Regions from separate parts of the Homo sapiens genome. Here regions 2, 3, 4 and 5 are each linked to region 1. The links are contacts of gene promoters, found by promoter capture Hi-C in blood cells and fetal thymus (Javierre and others, 2016). All regions are on one chromosome and are shown on one strand. The core of a region is centred on a gene start or on the middle of the fragment in contact, and the rest is flanking DNA. Distances in the headings are between cores, read along the strand shown. Region 1 holds the start of PLSCR4 (phospholipid scramblase 4). Region 2 has its middle 58 kb from the start of PLSCR5. Region 3 has its middle 41 kb from the start of PLSCR5. Region 4 has its middle 19 kb from the start of PLSCR5. Region 5 overlaps PLSCR1 (phospholipid scramblase 1).

Region 1 (4,163 bases), core at 613-3,112:
ATTCATAAGCTCAATTACTTGGCCTCTTTCATAAATTTTAAACAAAGGTAACATGCCGAGACCAGCTCAGTCGGGGAGACCCTAACCCAGCGGCGCTAGAGGAATTAAAGACACACACACAGAAATATAGAGGTGTCAAGTGGGAAATCAGGGGTGTCATAGCCTTCAGAGCTGACACCCCCGAACAGAGATTTACCCACGTATTAACAGCAAACCAGTCATTAGCATTGTTTCTATAGATGTTAAATTAACTAAAAGTATCCCTTAAGGGAAACGAAGGGATGGGCCGGATTAACTGCAGCAGGAACACGCCCTTAAGACACAGACCGCTCATGCTCATTGTTTGTGGCTTAACAATGCCTTTAAGCGGTTTTCGCCCTGAGCGGGCCAGGTGTTCCTCACCCTCACTCCCGTAAACCCACAACCTTCCAGCTTGGGCATTAGGGCCATTATGAACATGTTACAGTGCTGCAGAGATTTTGTTTATGGCCAGTCTTGGGGCCAGTTTATGGCCAGATTTTGGGGGGCTTGCTCCCAACAGTAACATATGCTATTATAATTTAGTTTCACCACCAGTTTCTTTGTTTTATGCTTTCAGTAAAACACTATGTCTGCATCTGAGAAATGTTCTGTGCAATTATTACTGAGAAGAACAGTATGAATTTTTTAATCTATTCTCACATGAATATTAACAAATAACACACATACAAAGAAAAATATAAAATTCTAGAACTCCACTCCCACATCCCTTCCCCTTTCCAACCTTCTCCCACAATGGGGTTCTGCCAAGTACTCCTCAGAGCTTAATCAAGCTTACTTCTGTCCAGTTCTGATTCTTTATAAGGTCAGAGGACCTTCAGTTCTCCCACTTCCTGTCAGTGTATTGTGCTTCTCTCCAAGCACCACCACAGAACTGAATCCCATTGGTCTGAAAGAAATATTTGTGCCTAACAGTAATAAGCAAATGGCATTTTTCTCCCAATGTCAGAAAACATGGGCAACCTGCTCCCTTTCCCCTTTATTGGCGTCTCTCCCGCCTTCCCTCCAAGATCAAATTGGCCTCCCCCAATTCTGTGGAAAAGAAAACAGAATTTCTGGGCCCTATGCCCAAGTGTTTCCAGCCAGCACGGCATTGCCAAGGCTAAATCACCAAGCCAAGGACCTGGGGGTGGGCGCAAATGCAAATCAAAAAGGCTCTTGAGGCCGGGTGCAGTGGCTCACGCCTGTAATCCCAGCACTTTTGGAGGCCGAGGCGGGCGGATCACGAGGTCAGGAGATCGAAACCATCCTGGCTAACACGGTGAAACCCCGTCTCTAGTAAAAAATACAAAAAATTAGCCGGGCGTGGTGGCGGGCGCCTGTAGTCCCAGCTGCTAGGGAGGCTGAGGCAGGAGAATGGCCTGAACCTGGGAGGCGGAGCTTGCAGTGAGCCGAGATCGCGCCACTGCACTCCAGCCTGGGCGACAGAGTGAGACTCCGTATCAAAAATAAAAATAAAAAAATAAAAAAGGCTCTTGAGAAAGAGGGGTTTCTTCATTTTCTCTCTAGGCGCAGTAATCTATGAACAAAGCTCCCTTTCCCAGGCCCTGCAACCTGCCCCTCTGATTGGAAGTGACCGTGGGCTGGCTTTTATCTTTTCTTTCACCTCTTATTAGAGTAGTGACAACTTATTTTCTTCATTTCTTCCTCCCCCTCGGCTTTTAGGTTTCAGCGGACTTCAGGGTGCCCCACCTCTTCCAGGAAGACGCTCCCCCGGGCTGGCGGCTCTCCCAGCGCGGGGCGGGGTCCGAGACGGGGAAGCCGCGCGCGGGGAAGGAGGGTCCAGGCGTGCCGGACCCGCCCCCAGAACCCGCGCCTAGCCCTCCCTTCCGCGCGCTTACTTTGTTTATAACTTGAAAAATCCTCTCCGTCTCCCTTCCCTGCCTCCTTTCCTTTCCCTTTCCTCTGCCAGTACAACTAGACCCGGCGTCTGGCGTCCCCGGTGCCCAGCATTCTGCGGGGCAGGCGGTGAGTGGGGCTGGACAGGCGGGCGCAGAGCAGGACAGGGTGGCGCGGGCGCCCGGGCTGCGGGGCCGAGGGCGTCGTCAGGGGAGGCCCGAGGCCGCGGTGCCTGCGGGCAGGCGCGGAGGTTGCGCGGCGTCCTGCGCTAGCAGTTCCCGGACACTGCGCTCGCGTCGCATCCTCAGGTGGTTGCAGAAGTTCCGTGGTGTCGGGCGCGCGTCTGCACTGCAGACGCAGAGGGTTTGGGAGCGAGCAGTTTCCTGCCCAGGGATGGGGGTCCTGGCTGCACTTCACGGGGGCGGCCCTTTCGTTTCGCTCTGCGTGACAGGTCTCGCTTGATTGGGTTTCTCATGGGTCTCTGGCGTTTCTACGGCGCGGCTCTCACGGACTCAGGCCAGGCCACTCGCAGGTAAAAACGCTATTTATAGTAACTTTTTAATTGCTCAGCGAGTGGAGGCGGTGACAGGAGAGAATCCCTCTCTCTTATTTCCAATTCTGGCAAACTGGGGCGATTTGGGGCTGTGCTTGATTTGTTTTTAAAAACGTTCATATTTAAAGACTTAGGATTTTATTTTGTGGCCTTATCTTCTCTTAGGATCTACAATTTAGTTTTTAATTTTATACTGCATTTAGAATGGAGCCACCAAAATAAGTACTTGTGAAGATATAATGCACCAAACTTGATACTGCTTAAAGGGGAATAGATTGCCTAATTTAAATTGCATTCTCCTGTAATAGTAATAGAACACAACCTCCATCTGTCTATCTGCTCTCATGGATAGCTGTGAAATACTAGCAGCATTTCCATTAAATTTGAAAAAGACAAGAATGCTAATCATTACACTCTGTGACATGGTTGTGAATTCTATGGGCGAGTGACAACAGGTAGGGGAACATATTATCACTTTATGCATGATGTGAGTGTATACCTTAATGTCCATAGGAAACACTGAAATTTGATGGGAAGCATAAGTGAATTTATCAAAGTTTCCAATTGCATCATACTTAATTTATAGAAGTCAGTTGATGTTTATACATAAACTAGATAATACAGTAAAATAAAGTAAAATTCAGTTTGGCATGAAATAACACACAATTGAGAAATTATTTTTAAGAAGATATAAAAAGGTATGTATGAGAATCCAATAAAATACATAACATTCTTCTAGGTAAAGATATCATTTCTCTAAAACAACGTATAAGTAGAATCCTAACTGAATATTTTTGTTACTGTTTTTAACTGTACTGTTTAGCTCATGTGGAAGAACAAACATATTAACGTTATGTATAATATATTACAAATAATAAAATACAAAATATATAATTATGTCTTATTTTATATATTATATATGATTTTAACATTTAATATTATACATACACACATATATATAGTGGAGACTTCTTCATATAATAAAAGGTGTTACAAAACTGTGGTGATTAAAAGACAGTGCAGTAGACCTACTACCAGATGTGTAAATGAAACTGAAGAGACATGGAAGAATAAAAGGAAAGCTGGCATTTGATAAGCATACATTTTAAATCACTGGGTGGGAAGAAGAAATAACATTTAATTGAATGTACTTGGACAAGCAGGAATTTGTTTGGGAAACCTAATAATAAAACTGGAACTTTTCCTCACTGTTAATAGACAAATGTAGTCTAGATGGCTTACTAGTTTAAATCTAAACATATGCAGCCTAAAAAGGGAAAAAGAAAGCCTGAATAGATATTTGTGCACATTGCATGTGGGAAAAGCATTTCTAAGCATAATACAAAAACCTAGACCCATTTAGGGACATGATTTTTATTAACATTTGCATCCCCCAAAAAAGATACAAACTGCGGACATTGTTAATAGAAAAAAAAAGATAATTTTGCTAATATACCTAGAAATCTTATTAATGACCTTCAAAATCAATGACCCAGTTAAGGATAAAAAGAGTCAACTCAAAGCAAAAGAAATGCAAATAATAAGCAGAGTGAATACTGTTAGCCACACTAATTATCCAAAACATATATGAAGTAAGACATCAATTTTTGCATTAATTTTACAAATTTTGAAAGTCTGATAACTTTAGGTGTTGTTGAAAATGCAGTGAGGAAAATATAATTTTACAAACTTTTAGTGGAAATGTGAATTGGTGAAGCTGTTTTAGGGTTAA
Region 2 (4,163 bases), core at 541-3,040, 410 kb before region 1:
AATCTTATTTCCTTGACATTCTGTAAATTTACTAGCACTCGTCTAAGTGTGGGTTCATTATTTATTTATTCTATATTGAATTTGTTAGTTATCCTGAATCCAAAGATTGTTATTTTTCAAATATATCCTTTGGGAATAAATGTTCCTCTAAACACGGTTGACTGCTTTAAAAACGGTAGCGGGTGGGCAGAATGGAAGAACTCCATAAGTAAACTTGAAGCAGACTAGCTATATTCATGAGTGAGACTCAAAAGCATTTCAACCTAACAATGCACATCTATTTTCAAGCTTGTCAATAATATCTTTCTGTACAGATTATTTGTATACACACATGTGTAAGTTAACATGAAAACTCCAACTACAGTTGTGAGTTGTGGAATGCAAGATATGTTTACATTACACTCATCTTTTGAGGCCCTATCTTGTCTCAAGCTTCAGGATCAGCCAACTTTGGTCCTTTTTCTTGCAGGAGCTTTCTGGATCAATTTAATCTAGAAAGGAATGATTACTTTTGATTAGGGTAAATGAGTTTCACTTAAAATATTTTTAAGAGCTAGCATTCTAGCATTTACATTTTAAGACATGTCTCTTAGTTGAATAAAACACTTGACACCAGTTAAAGAAATTTCAGCCATGGGCAGACAGGTAAGGAAAATTAGGGACTACATGAAAGAAGTGAAAAGTACATTGTATTTTCATGTATACGGGAATTTCTTGAAGTTCCTTTTTGCAAATGGAGTATATCACTAAGTATACATATAAATGTGTGGGGGTAATTACTATTTAGTCTTTTCAGGGCGAATTAATAACGGGGAGTATAATAACACAGGCTCATGACCTGTCTTCCTGTTCATCACGAGTTTCTCAAAAAAAGATGGATAGCAAAATTTCCTAGCTATTTTTGTTTGATCCACTTACCAGTGTTGTTAAAAAACGCAGGAAGGTGTTTCTTGGTTTCTGTGAATTTGAAGAATTTCTGCTGCCCTAGGCCATGTTCATCCAGCAGAATTCCTTTCCCTAGACCCTCCTTGAATCCACAACCCCTTGCTTCACGGATCCCTTCACTCTAAGCTCCATTTTTTCTGCTTCTCATTAACTCTTTGGTGACCTTTGTTGTATCTTATAGCATATATTTTTAAAAAGCCATTGAGTTTAACACACATATTTCAGTTGTTTGAATTGTGTTAAGGTGAACATAGGAATAAATAAGGCGTGATTAACCAGTGCCAAGCCTAAGCTTGTTACATGATTTCTGATTTTGCTAATGAACTGCCTTGACAAGGTATAACAGAGTTGTTGGAAACATTGATTTTGCAATCAGAAAGACCTATATTTGAATATTGATTTCATCATTTGCACTGTCTTAAGTTTCCTCACCCATGAAACAAACAGGATCACCTGAAGCAAACTTACCAAAAAGGTTATGAAGCTTAAGTTTTGCAGTATGTTCATAAGGCCTTCAGGTTTTGAAAACTAAAAGTAAGACTTTTTTTTTACTTTTTTTCTTTTTTAAAAATTTGTGTAGATTTAAGGGGTACAAGTGCAGTTTTGTTACATGGATATATTGCATAATGGTAAAGTCTGAGATTTTAGGGTAGTCATCATCTGAATAATGTGCATGGTACATACTATTTCTCACCCCCTCCTGATCTCCTCTCATCCTTCCAAATCTCCAGTGTCTGTTGTTCCACACTCTATTTCCGTTCGTGTACCTTATTTACCTCTTACTTATAAGTGGCAACATGTGCTATTTGACTTTCTGTTTCTGAGCCGTTTCACTTAAGATAATGGCCTCCAGTTTCATCCATGTTGTTGCAAAACACAGGATTTCATTAATTTTTATGGCTGAGTAGCATTCAATTGTATATATATATATGCCAAATTTGCTTTTTCCAGGTATCTATTGATGAAGATTTAAGTTGATTTCATATTGTTGCTGTTGTGAACAGTGATGTGATAAACATGCAGGTAGAATTATATTTTTGATATAATAATTTCTTTTGGGTTGTTTTTTCATGTTGAGTTATTTGAGCTCCTTATAGATTCTGGATATTAATCCTTTGTCAGATGCATAGTATTTAAATATTTTCTTCCATTCTGCATGTTGTCTATTCACTTGTTAATTATTTCTTTTGCTGTGCAGAAGCTTTTCAGTTTAATCAAATGCCATTTTTCTATTTTCGTTTTTGCTGCATTTGCTTTTGGAGTCTTTATCATAAATTCTTTGCCTAGGCAAATGTCCAGGAAAGTTTTCTGATGTTTTCTTCCTGTATTTTTATAGTTTCATGTCTTACATTTAAGTCTGTAATCCTTCTGGAGTTAATTTTTGTACATAGGGTGAGATAGGGATCCAGTTTCACTCTTCTGCATATGGCAATTCAATTTTCCCAGCAACATTTATTGAAAAGGCTGTCCTTTTCCCAGTATTTTTGTCAATGTTGTCAAATTTTAGTTGGTGGTAGGTGTATGCCTTTACTTCTGGGTTCTGTTCCATTGATCTATGTGTCTATTTTTATACAGTACTATGCTATTTGGGTTACTATTACCTGGTAGTATACTTTGAGGTCAGATAATGTGATGCCTCCACCATTGTTCTTTCTGCTTAGGAATGCTTTGGCTATTTGGGCTCTTTTTTGGTTCCATGTGAATTTTAGGATTATTTGTCAAATTCTGTGAAAAATAATGTTGGTATTTTGATAGGAATTACATTGAAACTGTAGATTGTTTGTGCTAGTATGGTGATCTTAATAATATCAGTTCTGATCTGCCAGCCTGGAAGTTTCTTCCATTTCTTTGTCTTGATCCAGTTTTTAAGGGGAATGCACCCAGCTTTTGCCCATTCAGTATGATGTTTGCTGTGGGTTTGTCACAGACGGCTCTTATTATTTTGAGATATTTTCCTTTTATACCTAGTTTGTTGAATGTTTTTATCATGACAGGATACTAAATTTTATCAAATGTTTTTTCTTCATTAATTAAGATGATCATATGGTTTTTGTTTTTAATTGTATTTATGTGGAATTACATGGATTGATTTATATATGTTGAACCATCTTTGCATCCCTAGAATGAAGCCCACTTGATTTAGGTGAATTATCCTTTAATGTAGTATTGGATTTGGTTTTCTAGTATTTTGTTGAGGATTTTTGCAGCTTAGTTTATCAGAGGTATTGGTTTATAGTTGTTTTTCTCTCTCTCTCTTTTTTTTTTTTTTTTGTTATGTCAATGCCTGGCTTTGGTATTGGGGTGACTGGCTTTGTAGAAATAATTAGGGAGGATTCCCTTCACCTGGATTTTTTTAGAAAAGTTGTGGGAGGAATGGTACCAGTTCTTCTTTGCAGATTTGGTAGAATCCATCTGGTCCTGGGATATTTTTGTTGTTGTTTTGGGAGATATATTTTATCTCTGTGATGTAATCTCACTAGTTGCTATTACTCTTCAAGATTTAAATTGTTTCTAGTTCAAATGTGGGGGGTTGTATGTTTCTAGGAATTAATCCATTTCTTATAGATTTTCTAGATTAGGGGCATTTGGTTGTTCATAGTAGTATCTCTTTTTTTTGTGTCTTCTTTCTTTTTTTTGTATCTTCTTTCTTTTTTCTTGTTTACTGTAGCCAGCAGTCTATCAATTTTGCTCATCTTTTCAAGGGACAACTTTTCATTTTGTTGATTCTTTGTATTCTTAGGTTCTCAATTTCATTTAGTTCTGCTCTGATTGATTTTGTTATTTCTTTTCTTCTGCTAGCTTTGGGTTGGTTTTTTTTTTTCTGGTTGTTGTTGGTTGTTTGTTTTTTTGTTTTTTGGTGTTTTTTTTTTTAGTACCTGGAGGTAAATGATGAGATTAATTTGTGATCTTTCTATTCTTTTGATACAAACATTCTAATGCTATAAGCGTACCATTGAGCACTACTTTTATTGTAGATCAAGGGATTTGGCATGCTGCATTTACATATTCATTTATTTTAAAATTTTTTAAAATTTCTGTCTTAATTTCATCATTGACTCAGTGATCATTCAGGAGTTTCTTCTTAAAGTCTGGGTGCGGTGGCTCATGCCTGTAATCCCGGCACTTTGGGAGGCTGAGGCGGGTGGATCACTTGAAATCAGGAGTTCAAGACCAGCCTGGCCAACATGGTGAAACCCCGTCTCTACTAAAAATACAAA
Region 3 (4,163 bases), core at 585-3,084, 400 kb before region 1:
ATGCGAAATAATCCCTATTGCATATTACATGTGGCCAGTTATATATAAACAACCACATATGAGACAGTGGGCCAATAAGATTAAAGTACTATATTTTTACTGTACCTTTTCTATCTTTAGATATGTGTAGACACAAATACTTACCATTGTATTATAGTCATCTACAGTATTCGGCACAGTAACATGCTATACAGGTTTTTAGCCTAGACGCAATAAGCTATACTATAGCTTAAGTGTGTAGTAGGCTATACCATCTTGGTTTATGTGGGTACCCTGTATGATTTTTGCACAAGGATGAAGTCACCTAAGGACACATTTCACAGAATGTATCCTTGTCATTAAGTGACACATGATTGTTTTTGGAGATTACTTTCTGTATTGATTATAAATTATAAATTAAAGTAAGAAAACAATCTTTGGTATTCTATGGACTTTGTCATAATTGGAAGTGTTTTCTCACTCAAATCTTAGTTTCTTCCACAAACTTTCATGTATCTCTTTCACCAAATAGGACACCAACTGGCAAGTAGACGAGAGGTAAATGAAAGGTTGACTAAAAGAAAACATGAGCTTTTTCCAAAGAGAAAAAAAATAAAATCTGAAACCAAAATGCCCCTTTTTAATTTAATTCATTACAGGACTCCACATCTCTTAACATAATGAATTTTACTTTTATCAGCTTTCTTCATTTCTTTAGCATCTCTGTTTCACTGCAAGAACAGATTCTTGGTAAATGCTCTTTGTAATCTAATGTTCCAAAGACTACTTATTCAGTTTCCAACAACTTGTCTGGTCTTCTGTCAGTTGGGGATGTTAAAATGATTAAGAAATAGATCTTCACCCATACTTACTTATTGGTTGTTGAAATACCACGTATTTCCATATTGCTGGCAAATAACTACTGCCTTTGTTCTCTGAGTGCTTCCCTGTTACCCCAGCAGCCAAGGTGCTGGGATGCTCTGGAATTCCCCCAGAATCCAGCAACTTAATGAGGTAGTAACCAGCACAGGTGAGGAGTTCCAAGCCTTTGCTCCTACACTTGACCAACATTCATAGCAATTTTTAAATATCCCAGCACCAAAACTGAACATGATGTAAATTTGTTTTTTATAAGTGTTCTGGATACCAGATGATGAGGTGATTGATCCCAGTGCTGGAGACTTGGGTCACCTGTAGAAGGCAGTTGAAATGTGAGTTGAGTTGGTGGGAGACAAAAATAAACCTTTTTTCCTATCCAGTCTTCACTCCTTTGCTGTTTCTAATTGCCTCCATGTTAAGAAATAAATCTCTTACTTTGTTTATTTGTTAATAATAATTGTGTGCTAAGTAAGAGAAAGTGGCTTCTGACCAAAAGCTAAGGATCTCTCCTGAAGACAATGTATGGTTTTTTGCTGTGAAGATTTAAGCCAGAAGCTTCAGTTGTGCAGAAGCCATTTTGTTTATTTCCTAGTCCTCAAATCTCTTCTCAGGTTGAGATTAGAAAGGCAGAAACTTCTATGTAAGTAAATAGATACTAAAAACATTTTGAAAATATTTTCAAGTAAAATGACTACTGAAGTCAATTTTACAATATGCAACTGATCTAAAAGTGTATTTGACATCTAGCTTTTTTAATGCTACTGTACTTACTACATTTAGAAATGTTAACGGGAAGACAAGGTTTAATCAAATATTTTCATTAGACCTACATCTCAACCAAGAAGATTTTGTTGCTGTTACCCTTCACATGTGCCTTAGAATATGAAAATAATAAAGTAATAATTTCAGATGAAAAGCAAAGTGACAAATACTTTAAGCATAGCACTTAAAAGCTCTGTTGGGTAGGAAAGTCCAGTATTTTTAAAAAGCCATATTTTTATGCAATATTAAAACAAGAAATTTTCAATGATAGTTGCTTAAAATGTCTGCTATACACATAGGATTCAAAAGAGGCACCCCCGACTGTTTTCCATTCATATGAATGGGAAGTACATGGGTAAATTACCGCCTGCAGTGCAGGATAGTGGACGTTGTACACAGCTGTTACTGTAGCCCTGTAATTATGCAAGTATCCTTCCACTGTTATACAATTAGAAGGACCTGTCTTTCTTTCTTGCATTAGGCAATGTTTTTGTTGGTGTCAAGAGCACTGAGCTATCTGTACATGTTCGGTTGTTTGTGTCTGAGTTGAATATAACTGGTACATTACAAGCAGTTCATTTTTAAAATCATGTTTTAAAAATTTGAAAAAATTCTATCATAATAAGAAAGCTTATCTTATTCCAGCTAACTTATTAAATAATTTTTAAAAATTTCTTCCCAGTAATCGACTCTGTTGCACCCTTGTATTTTGTCAACATGGAATGTAGATAATATCAAACATTCTGCATAATCTTTCAGTATCATAAGTAGATCAGAGGACAGAAGTAAAAGTGTAAACACAGTCATTAAATATTTTGTCTGTTACCGTTGTAATTTAAAACACAGATTTTAAAAATCTAGAGGTAACCTTTAAAAATGGAAATTTGTTAAGATCATTGAGGGATGGAGATTTCATTGAAACTTAGATTATATAAAACAAATTATGACTTGCCAAAAAAAAAATGAAACCTTGTAAAAATTTACATATAACAGAAGGCATGTAATCAAAAAGATAAATGTTTTTTACTTGACTCAGATACTCAGCAACAGTTGCGTATGGTGCCTGAACCATGAATTTACGGGTCACTTTTACAAAAGGAGCAAAGTTGGGTGGGTGGGTGGTTATATAAAACTGTTTTCAGTAACACTGACATGTATATTAATGGCTAGCAATGTATTTCTAGTTTAGATCCTAAATACAAATCTTAATTTCTAATTTTACTAATTATACACTAGCATTCATTTCCCAAGGTTAAATAAAGACTAAATTGAAGGTCACATGGAAAACTAAGAAGAGTCACTTTTTTTAACTTTTTAAAAATTTTTTATTATTTTGTTTTGTTTTGTTTTTTGAGACAGAGTCTTACTCTGTTGCCCAGGCTAGAGTGCAGCGATGTCATCTTGGCTCACTGCAACCTCCGCCTTCCGGGTTCATTCAATTCTCCTGCCTCAGCCTCCTGAGTAGCTGGAATTACAGGTGCCCACCACCACACCTGGCTAATTTGTGTATTTTTGGTAGATATGGAGTTTCGCCATGTCAGCCAGGCTAGTCTCAAACTCCTGACCTCGAGTGGTCTTCCCACCTAGGCCTCCCAAAGTGCTAGGATTACAGGCATGAGCCACTATGCCTGGCTAAGAATGCCAACAACCAGGTTATTAAGGATTTGAACTTAGCATATCATTAGAAGAGACTAAATTTCAAAACAAATTCAATATCACATGCTAATAAAACTCCTATTTATCATTCATTCCAATCAGTTAATGATCAGATGGCATCAATACGTCAATATTATTTATACTTCCCAGATTTCTTAATAAGTATGCAGGAAAGAACACCCAGAATTATGACAAGTCCACAAAAATCTAACAATGCATTATTATATTTTAAGAGGCTTATCCCTTTAGGTTTATGTTTTCACTAAAATTACATTAACTTTTACATAGGAGAAAAATAATTTCAAAAACACTAGAAAATTCAAGCTGTTTTAGCTTATTAATTTGGTAAAACAATAATAAACCCTACAAAATTGTTGTTTAAAATGATGCTCCTTTGACTGATATTAAAATGCTTTTGTATAATATTTCAGAGAAGAGTACCTGAGATTTAGGATGTAGGACATTTTCAATCTCGTTCGAATTTCACTTTCAATGTCTGCCTTAAAAAAAAAAACAAATGGTTGCTAATGTCATAATGACGTTTAAACTCTGCTATATATTGAACACAGTGTCGGGAGTACTCGTAAATGCTTTGCATACAGTATCTGACTTAATCCCCGTAACAACCAAATAAAACAAATATTTTGTATCCCAATTTGTCAGATGAAGACTGTGGCTCAAAGACCTTAAGTAATTTGTACTAATTAGTGGCTGAGATGGAATTACAAACAATGTCTCTCTGTCTTCAGTTATAATCCGTTATGCTGCTACAATATAATATCTACTTAAAGCCTACTCCAAGCTGGCTTTGGTTGAAATTGAGTCACATAACTTTCCCTAAAAAGACACAGTCTTTCCATTGGCCAGGCGTAAATCACTGCCTACCT
Region 4 (4,163 bases), core at 666-3,165, 370 kb before region 1:
TAATGTAACATTTCTCAGATTCTTCTTGGTTATAAAGAAGGTAAAATATAAGGGAAAAATTAAATAGAGATGATGTGTAAGCCCTTGCTTCAATTTCCTTATCTACAAATACTTGCAACCAAATCCTAGCCAGATCCTACTATAATCTTCACATTTCTTCCTTGCCATTGTTTTGTTTGTTTTACTTGACTAAACAATGGGTTTTCTTCTTGAGTTCTTTTGTACACTAATATATCCAAATGTAAATAAATTGAAACAGTCCAAATGAATTAGATGAAAATTTATGTATTCCTTTTTTCCTATATATAATAATTTTTAAAATGGAAAACTCTCAGATATAGTTTGTTTTTCTTCATTGATTTAAACTGGAAGATCATCGGACCCTTTGCTTTCCTCTAGCATGCCAATAAGGAGGAGGAGTGTGGTGGGCTTCTGGGAGATTCCCTATGGTCTCCTGCTTTGGAAATCCTATTTCAGTTATAAATGAAAGATAAATCTATCTTGAATTATTTTCCTCTCACTCTTTTTTTAAAAATTTTTTGATGTCTTATTTCTCTTTTATTTTTAAATTTTTGTTTTTAATTTTTGTGGGTACATAGTAGGCTTATATATTTATGAGTTATATAAGATATTTGATACAGGCATGCGATGCAATATCCATTACCTCCTTTGTGTTACAAACAATCCAATTATACTCTTTTGTACACTCTATATGTGTACAAAAAAAATAGAAAGAATAAGACCTGGTGTGTGATAGCACAACAGAGGGACTATAATTCCCTCACTCTTTTATCAAGATATCTTGGTGGCAGAGCCACTTAAGGCATTCTGTGTTACTTGATAGGCAGGTTTCATACCTCCGCCTGCCTGGAAAAAATTACAGATTGCTTCTAGATTCAGTATCAACATGAAAATGCAATATTTATACAGTAAATGGACAAATTATGCTTGCTTACTAATTGAATATTATCTTGATAAGAGTAAGAAGACAATAAGAGAACTCCCTAAAACAGATAAATGCCAGATTTTAAACAAGAACATGAAAATAATCTTTAGCCTGAGAGGTCACATGGTACTCCTTTTCTCACTTTCACTTTCTGAAGGAACTGCTCATGTGGGATCGCATATTTGTTTAATAAACTATCTGGCTTTCAATGACTTAATGGACCTTTGTTTGTGGAGCAAAATAGGTAATACTGAGTTTTTTGTGAATAGCAACCTGAATATTACTTTATTTCTACTTAAGTGTAATATTTGAAAGCCTTATTCCACTGGTATATTAGAGGAATTTTGAGTGAACATGAAGTAATTGATCACAAAATTTTTAGACTTTCTAGGCCAATTGTTTTAAAGAAAATTTTGAGATAAAATCAAAACTTCCTGATTAAAAAAGAGGAAATGGGAAACCAGAATCCCACCTGCTCAGCCTCACCGAAGCCCCCAATCTTGTACTGACCCTCATACACACAGCTGTCCAAGAGACCTCTTCTTGGGACCTGAGGTTTTCTCAAGACACATTTTAAAATTCATTGATCTGGTTTGTTACTTTATCACCTTTCTTTCCTTTTCTAATTTGGGTTATTTTATGGCTCATAATCACCTTCAACTGAAAAACAATCAACAAACATGGCTGGAACCAAATTTTGTAGAAAACATACACAGCATTTGTGAAATTAAGAGAAAATTACTCACCATATCAATTCGCTGTAATTAAATCTGTGTGTGTGTCTCTGTGTGTGTGTGTGTGTGTGCACGCAATCCCTTATTGTAGCATCTGATGCAAAATATGTGAAGCGTATGTGAATTTTCTTCCTTCCGTTTTCCTTCTTCAAGTATTCCCTTTCTCACATGAAACAAGGGATGTAGAGATACACCCTAGGCTTATTTTTTAAGAAAAAAATATTATTTAAAGTCATTATTCTCTAATAAGAATTATTTTGTTGTGTTTCCCAAACCATGGGTATACATATTCTAAACAAGGGCTGTAGAAAATGGAATGAATTTGAAGGAATTTCCCAATAATGGCTTTTAGGACCTGCTACACTTTGATGGGACTGGTTTCCCACTTCTGAATTCTATCAGTGTGACCCTGGTGATGTAATAAATTTTAAAATCACAGTAGCTCCATTTTACTGGTTAGAGGGGGCATTTTAAGCAAAAGACATCACTCATGGAGTCATGCTATGTTCCTAATTCTGAATTTTTGCTCACACATGAGGCATGGCTTTGTAAGTTGTGCAGTATACAACGTCATATTATCTATGAGAAGGCCACTCAATTGCACACAGGGCAAAAATCATTGATTCCAGTGATTTTTATGACAGACAAAAGTAACATCTCAGTTCTAACAAAACCAGAAAAGGGTCTCAATGTAGGGATTCCATGACAGATCTTTATTTTAGCCCCAGACACCCACTCTCTGTCCGTCTCCACCCATCCCCACCCTGCTCTCTGCCCAGGGAAGTTGACTTCTTTGTCCTACAAAACAAAATTTTCATGTCCTCTGTCTTCTTGTTGGCATTTAGTCAGTGAAGAGCCGGGAGATTGGGAAGGTGGGAGGACAGTGAGGTCAGAGTAGCTATTTCCCTGTCTCAATCCCTCTCAAGACAGCCAACCTCTGTGACTCTATTCTTCTGGATTCTTGTTTTAATTCATATATTTCTCTTTAGGACTGACTAATAGACTAAGGGGTATTTGTCTTTTGTCCCACACTCACAGATTTATAAATAATGCCTTTGCAAATGAGCATTCTGGATCTTCTTCCGTTTTGAAGGTGTCATCGAGTTTCTATTGGTACCCTGACTGTAGGAGGTCCCTTCCTCATGCACACTCAGGCATTGCATGACTAGCCCTTCCTTGTGCTCATGCTCCACATTCAGAATCTCAGTTCCACTGATATATGCCTCTGCATCTCCCTAACAGGAAAAAGGAAGCAAGGGGACAATCTAAAAAGAAGTATAGAGGCCGGGCGCGGTGGCTCACGCCTATAATCTCAGCACTTTGGGAGGCCGAGGCGGTCGGATCACGAGGTAAGGAGATCAAGACCACCCTGGTTAACGCAGTGAAACCCCGTATCTACTAAAAAAAGTACAAAAAATTAGCCGGGCGTGGGGGCGGGCGCCTGTAGTCCCAGCTACTCCAGAGGCTGAGGCAGGAGAATGGTGTGAACCCGGGAGGTGGAGCTTGCAGTGAGCCGAGATGGCGCCACTGCACTCCAGCCTGGGCGACAGAGCGAGACTCCGTCTTAAAATAAATAAATAAATAAATAAATAAATAAATAAATAAATAAATAAAAGTACAGTAGAAAATCTAGCAGATATGCTTATGTTCATCTTCAATTAGGAGAGAAATAAAAATTCCTAGACACTCCCTTTTTCTGTGAGAAATGCCACTACAGATTGCAGAACAAGAAATATTTTGATTTTTTTAACAAAGTGTCACTCTAGTTGTGTTTTTCCCACTTTGTATTTATTAATGCTATATTGTTTTTAAACTACTTCCATGTCCATTCTTTCATTTAATTAACCTAAAAGTATATGCTTTCAAAAAGTTAAAGTTGCCTATCTGTGATTACACAACTAATAAATGATAATTGCAAAAAAAAAAAGAAATATTTTGATTTTAAATTTGTTTAAAGTGCCTAATGCTCAAAACATGATATCAAACCATATAAAAGTTTTAAAATATGAGTTTTATATTCCATTCTCCAAACTCTGGTTCCATTGTATTTTTTAACAATTTACTCATTTTTCTTGGGATAGATGTCAGAAAATAATCTTAAAATACTCTAAAAATATTCAACTCTCTAAATATTATAAATACATAGAAACACTTATAAGATTAACCTAACATAATGCTTCAAATTCCTGATTTATCAATTTAACAGTATCTATTTATTCTCAATATAGGTTAGCTACCTAAGGAAATCACGCTTTCTTTCTCCATATATATAAATGTGTGTGTGTGTGTGTGTGTGTGTGTACACATACACAACTGCTGTTATGTTTTCAAGGTTTATATAATTTATCTTCTATTATTTATGTATAACCAAGACCTTTGGGTTTTATTCATAGGTGGATTACAAAAAGTGAAGACCAATAACAGTATTTATAATATAATGGCATACAATACTTCAGAACAAAGTTGCATGAAAGAAAAAAGTA
Region 5 (4,163 bases), core at 455-2,954, 270 kb before region 1:
TATTTATGGAGTACAGTCTGGCATTTTAATGCACATGTACTACGTGTAATGAAAAATAAGGATAATTAGCATATCTGTCACTTTTAATATTTATCATTTCTTAGTGTTGAGAACATTCCAAATCCTCTCTTCTAGCTATTTGAAAATATACAATAAATTATTGTTAATTATAGTCAGCCTACATAGCTATAGAACACTAGAATTTATTCCTCCTATCTAGCTGTAATTTTGTATTCATTAACCAACTTCTCTTTATACCTCTCCTCCCTACCCTTCACAGTTTCTAGTAACCACTATTCTAGTATCTACTTTTTTTTTTAGATGGAGTCTCATCCTGTCACCCAGGCTGGAGTGCAATGGCACGATCTCGGCTCACTGCAACCTCCGCCTCCCGGGTTCAAGCTATTCTCTTGCCTCAGCCTCCCAAGTAGCTGGGCTACAGGCTCCTGCCACCACACCCAGCTCATTTTTGTATTTTTAGTAGAGACGGTTTCACCATACTGGCCAGGCTGGTCTTGAACTCCTGAACTTGTGATCCGCCTGCCTTGGCCTCCCAAAATGCTGGGATTACAGTCGTGAACCACTGCGCCTGGCCTCTACTCTCTACTTCTAAGAAATCAATTTTTTTAAGCTTCCATGTATGAGTGAGAACATTCAGTATTTTTCTTTCTGTGCCTGGCTTATTTCACTTAACATAATGTCCCTTAGGCTCATCCATGTTGCTGCCAATGACAGGATTTCATTCATTTTTATGGCTGATTTTTATTCCATTGTGTGTATTAAGAATGAATTTTTCTTTATTCATTTATCTATTGATGAATACTTAGGTTGATTCTATATATTGACTGTTAGTGCTGCAATAAGCATGAGATTGCAGATACCTCTGACATATTGATTTCCTTTCCTTTAAAATTTTTGTTTTGAAAATTTTGAAAAAATACTGTTTCAAAAAAAACAGTAGTGGGATTGCTGAATCATATGGTGGCTGTAATTTTAATTTTTGAGGAACCGCTACACTGTTCTCCATAATGGCTGCTCTAATTTACTTTCCCACCAACAGATTTCCCCTTCTCCACATTTTTACCATTATTTGTTATTTTTTGTCTTTTTGATAAAAATTCTTAACTGTACAAAGATAATATCTCATTGTGGTTTGGATTTCATTTCCCTGGTGATTAGTGATGTTGAGCATTTTTTCATAAACTTACTGGCCATTTTGTATCAATTTTCTTTTCTTTTTTTTTTCTTTCTTTTTTTTTTTTTTTTTTTTTGAGATGGAGTCTCACGCTTGTTGCCCAGGCTGGAGTGCAGTAGCGCGATCTCGGCTCACTGCAACATCTGCCGCCTGGGTTCAGGCGATTCTCCTGCCTGAGCCTCCCAAGTAGCTGGGACTACAGGCACCTGCCACCACACCCAGCTCATTTTTTGTATTTTTAGTAGAGACAGGGTTTCACCATGTCAGCCAGGATGGTCTCGATCTCCTGACCTCGTGATCTGCCCACTTTGGCCTCCCAAAGTGCTGGGATTACAGGCATGAGCCACCTCAATTGTCTAATTTTTAAAGGTACTCCAGTATAAATCAATTTTATTTGACCTAAATTTTTCCACATTAATAATGAACACAATAAATATTTTATTAATTAAAAATATTAACTTCAGTTTTACACTAAAAAGTAATATAAGCTGTTAAATATTGATAATTGGTTACATGTACTTTAAAAATATAAATACATGAATTTTAATTTGGTTAGCTTATAAAAACCTTCATTTGACATATACATACCACTTATTTTTTTTCCTGCTATAGATAGATCAGATACTGATTCATCAGCAAATTGAACTTCTGGAAGGTATGTATTCATTGTTTTAATCCTGTTTCTATAAAGAGTAGAAGTTTATGCAGATAAAGGCACATTGACCTCCACAAATATAACACTCTCACTTATATAGGACAGTTAAACCAGTTATTTACAATAATAAATGTTATCAGCAATTCATTTCTAAAATTTAGGAATCAAAAGGTAAAATGCTGTTATGTTGGGCACCTGCCCTCGGGATATTGACACTAACTTAGAAGGAAAATAATCAAAACCCTTATTTTGCTCCTCTCTTCATACATCACTTTTTTTCTGACTTCTACCACTTAAGCTATTTTCTCCGTAATTGTGATCAGCTTAAGAATGGCACAGAGCCACATTCCAAAGTAAGTTATCTTTTTTATTTGGATGAGGAAGTTTGGGAAAATTATCATTTGTGCCCACAGTTTCTCTTGGGAGTTAAGATGAACCCTATAAAACCTTTGTATACGAGGTCAGATGCAGGCCACTGCAGTGTGGGAGGATGCTGACCAACTAGCCTGCAGGCTTGGCTTCATAGAAGAGCACTCCTGCTCCTGCTGAATGGCCTGACATTTCCTTGGGTCCAGGGCTCCTTAGGTGCAAAAATAAACCTAGGAAGCCAATTAATGTTTTATAATGGCTGCCAGGGGAAGAAGACCCTGGATAGATTTATGAACCATAGTGTTTTCCTTCTAGATAAAAAAGGTTTAATAAAAAATAAAACTCTCCAGTTTTTAGGAATATGTCTGCTAAATTCATTTTCACCTGTCTCCAAAGTTTCTTTCCACTGGTAAAAATTAGAAGATGAATTGTATAAGCAGAATAATGGATTTGGCTAAAATATACAATTGTCATCTATTACATTGAAGTTATTTGTAAAGCACATTATTATTTATAAGTTACTTGATTTTTTTTTTAGTGTATCTAAACAAAGCTTTCTCTGGAAGACAGCTTTGTATTCTGAATTTTTTAATGTTTTATAGTATATATTAGTAAGGCTATAAAATCCAAACAGACATATAACCAAACATTACACAGCACACTATTTATCTTTTTTTGTAGATTTATAGGCTTTATAAATATTTGTTAAATATGTGTTAATTATGAAATAGAAAGTTCCAAATCTAACAGTTTTTAATTATGCTTATTTTTCAAAAAAGAAATGTCTCCAGTTTTTTTTTTGTTTCTTTTTCTCCAAAATTGAAAGTCTATGTTATTTTTTCATGAGTGGTATAAAAAAGATGAAGATTACTCAGGTTTTTAGAATCTGAGCATAAACTAGGCACTTACTTTTTTTTCTCAATTCAAAACACAGAAGACAATAAAAATATAAACAATTTGTTTACATTTTTAAAGTAAATGAAAAGAAACTTAAAGGTTATGTAAACCAATGTTGTTTTACAAATAAGCTGGAGATTTTTGAGATTAAGCTACTTAATGTAACAATTAATTAGATAATGAATGTCCTCTCAAAATCAGCTTAACTTTTTTCTCATCAAACATTTGACTATTTCAGATGTTGAAATCAGACGTTGTTCCTATAAATGCAGAGTACAGGGTCTGTCTGTGTCCCACCAAGGACACTTAAAGGAGTTCATGGTGGTAAGACTTGTGAAGGCCGTCTTTATCCGACTCAGAGTCTTTCCACATAGGCATTATAGAGTGACTTTTCCTCCATATATTTATTTTAATCACTCATTATTTTAGCCAGGCTTCTGACATCTATGACCCCAGTTACTGAGGACTATGTACAAATGGGACAGTTATTGCTCCTTTCTGGCTTTAAATATGGAGAGGTTTCCAATGTATGGTTAGATATGGAAAGCCCTTGATACAAAGTATGTGAGTGTCAGCATTTTGCAGCCATCTGTTTCCCTCATGAAGATAGATTAGCCCAGCAAAGGTGCAGAGTTCACTTAGGATTCCCACGGTCTAGATATTCTGTGAGTTGAAGCCTTGGTTGCCGAACACGTTTGTCTAATACCCACCTCCCACTTCTGAACAACTACTGTTGAGTTGAATAAGGATGCCCTGGGTCCAATGTGACATTCTAATTCATCTTTCATTTTTACTCCCTCGGTTTTTATGCGTGTACATTGCCTTCTTTCAAAAGCATTGCAAAAAAATAAGACATAAGTAAGGTTTATAAGACAGTCTCAAACCAATTGATTTAATATAAAATTTCATAGCACATAAACAGCAATCCTCTTATATTCCCCTCCACATTACACATAAACTATCCTGCATTAGTGGACATTTTATCTATACACCTAGCACCACCGTGCCCACCCACAGCATTGCCCCAACTCTCAGCAGAAAAGTCTC

The links. The method cuts DNA at HindIII sites, captures the fragments that hold promoters and counts their contacts. A CHiCAGO score of 5 or more calls a contact.
Region 2: a fragment that was not itself captured here is called in contact with the fragment with the promoter of PLSCR4 in region 1 in 4 of 17 cell types (naive CD8 T cells, monocytes, activated CD4 T cells and 1 more); the score reaches 7.3 in naive CD8 T cells.
Region 3: a fragment that was not itself captured here is called in contact with the fragment with the promoter of PLSCR4 in region 1 in 13 of 17 cell types (naive CD4 T cells, naive CD8 T cells, activated CD4 T cells and 10 more); the score reaches 10.0 in naive CD4 T cells.
Region 4: a contact is called between a fragment that was not itself captured here and the fragment with the promoter of PLSCR4 in region 1, in 14 of 17 cell types (M2 macrophages, total B cells, naive CD8 T cells and 11 more). The highest score is 10.8, in M2 macrophages.
Region 5: a contact is called between a fragment that was not itself captured here and the fragment with the promoter of PLSCR4 in region 1, in 4 of 17 cell types (erythroblasts, naive B cells, naive CD8 T cells and 1 more). The highest score is 9.8, in erythroblasts.

What each region holds. Positions count from the first base shown.
Region 1 is chr3:146,248,804-146,252,966 of GRCh38, reverse strand. PLSCR4 (phospholipid scramblase 4) reads left to right here and starts at 1,862. Exons shown (of 9, transcript NM_020353.3): 1 at 1,862-2,007. The HindIII fragment of the contact is 7,000 bases long and covers 815-4,163 here.
Region 2 is chr3:146,661,449-146,665,611 of GRCh38, reverse strand. No RefSeq gene overlaps it. Among named protein-coding and RNA genes, the nearest start is that of PLSCR5, 58 kb to the right of the region's middle. The HindIII fragment of the contact is 717 bases long and covers 1,432-2,148 here.
Region 3 is chr3:146,644,316-146,648,478 of GRCh38, reverse strand. No RefSeq gene overlaps it. Among named protein-coding and RNA genes, the nearest start is that of PLSCR5, 41 kb to the right of the region's middle. The HindIII fragment of the contact is 837 bases long and covers 1,416-2,252 here.
Region 4 is chr3:146,622,245-146,626,407 of GRCh38, reverse strand. No RefSeq gene overlaps it. Among named protein-coding and RNA genes, the nearest start is that of PLSCR5, 19 kb to the right of the region's middle. The HindIII fragment of the contact is 4,517 bases long and covers 1-4,163 here.
Region 5 is chr3:146,523,292-146,527,454 of GRCh38, reverse strand. PLSCR1 (phospholipid scramblase 1) reads left to right here. Exons shown (of 9, transcript NM_021105.3): 5 at 1,808-1,850. Among named protein-coding and RNA genes, the nearest start is that of PLSCR1, 19 kb to the left of the region's middle. The HindIII fragment of the contact is 2,141 bases long and covers 634-2,774 here.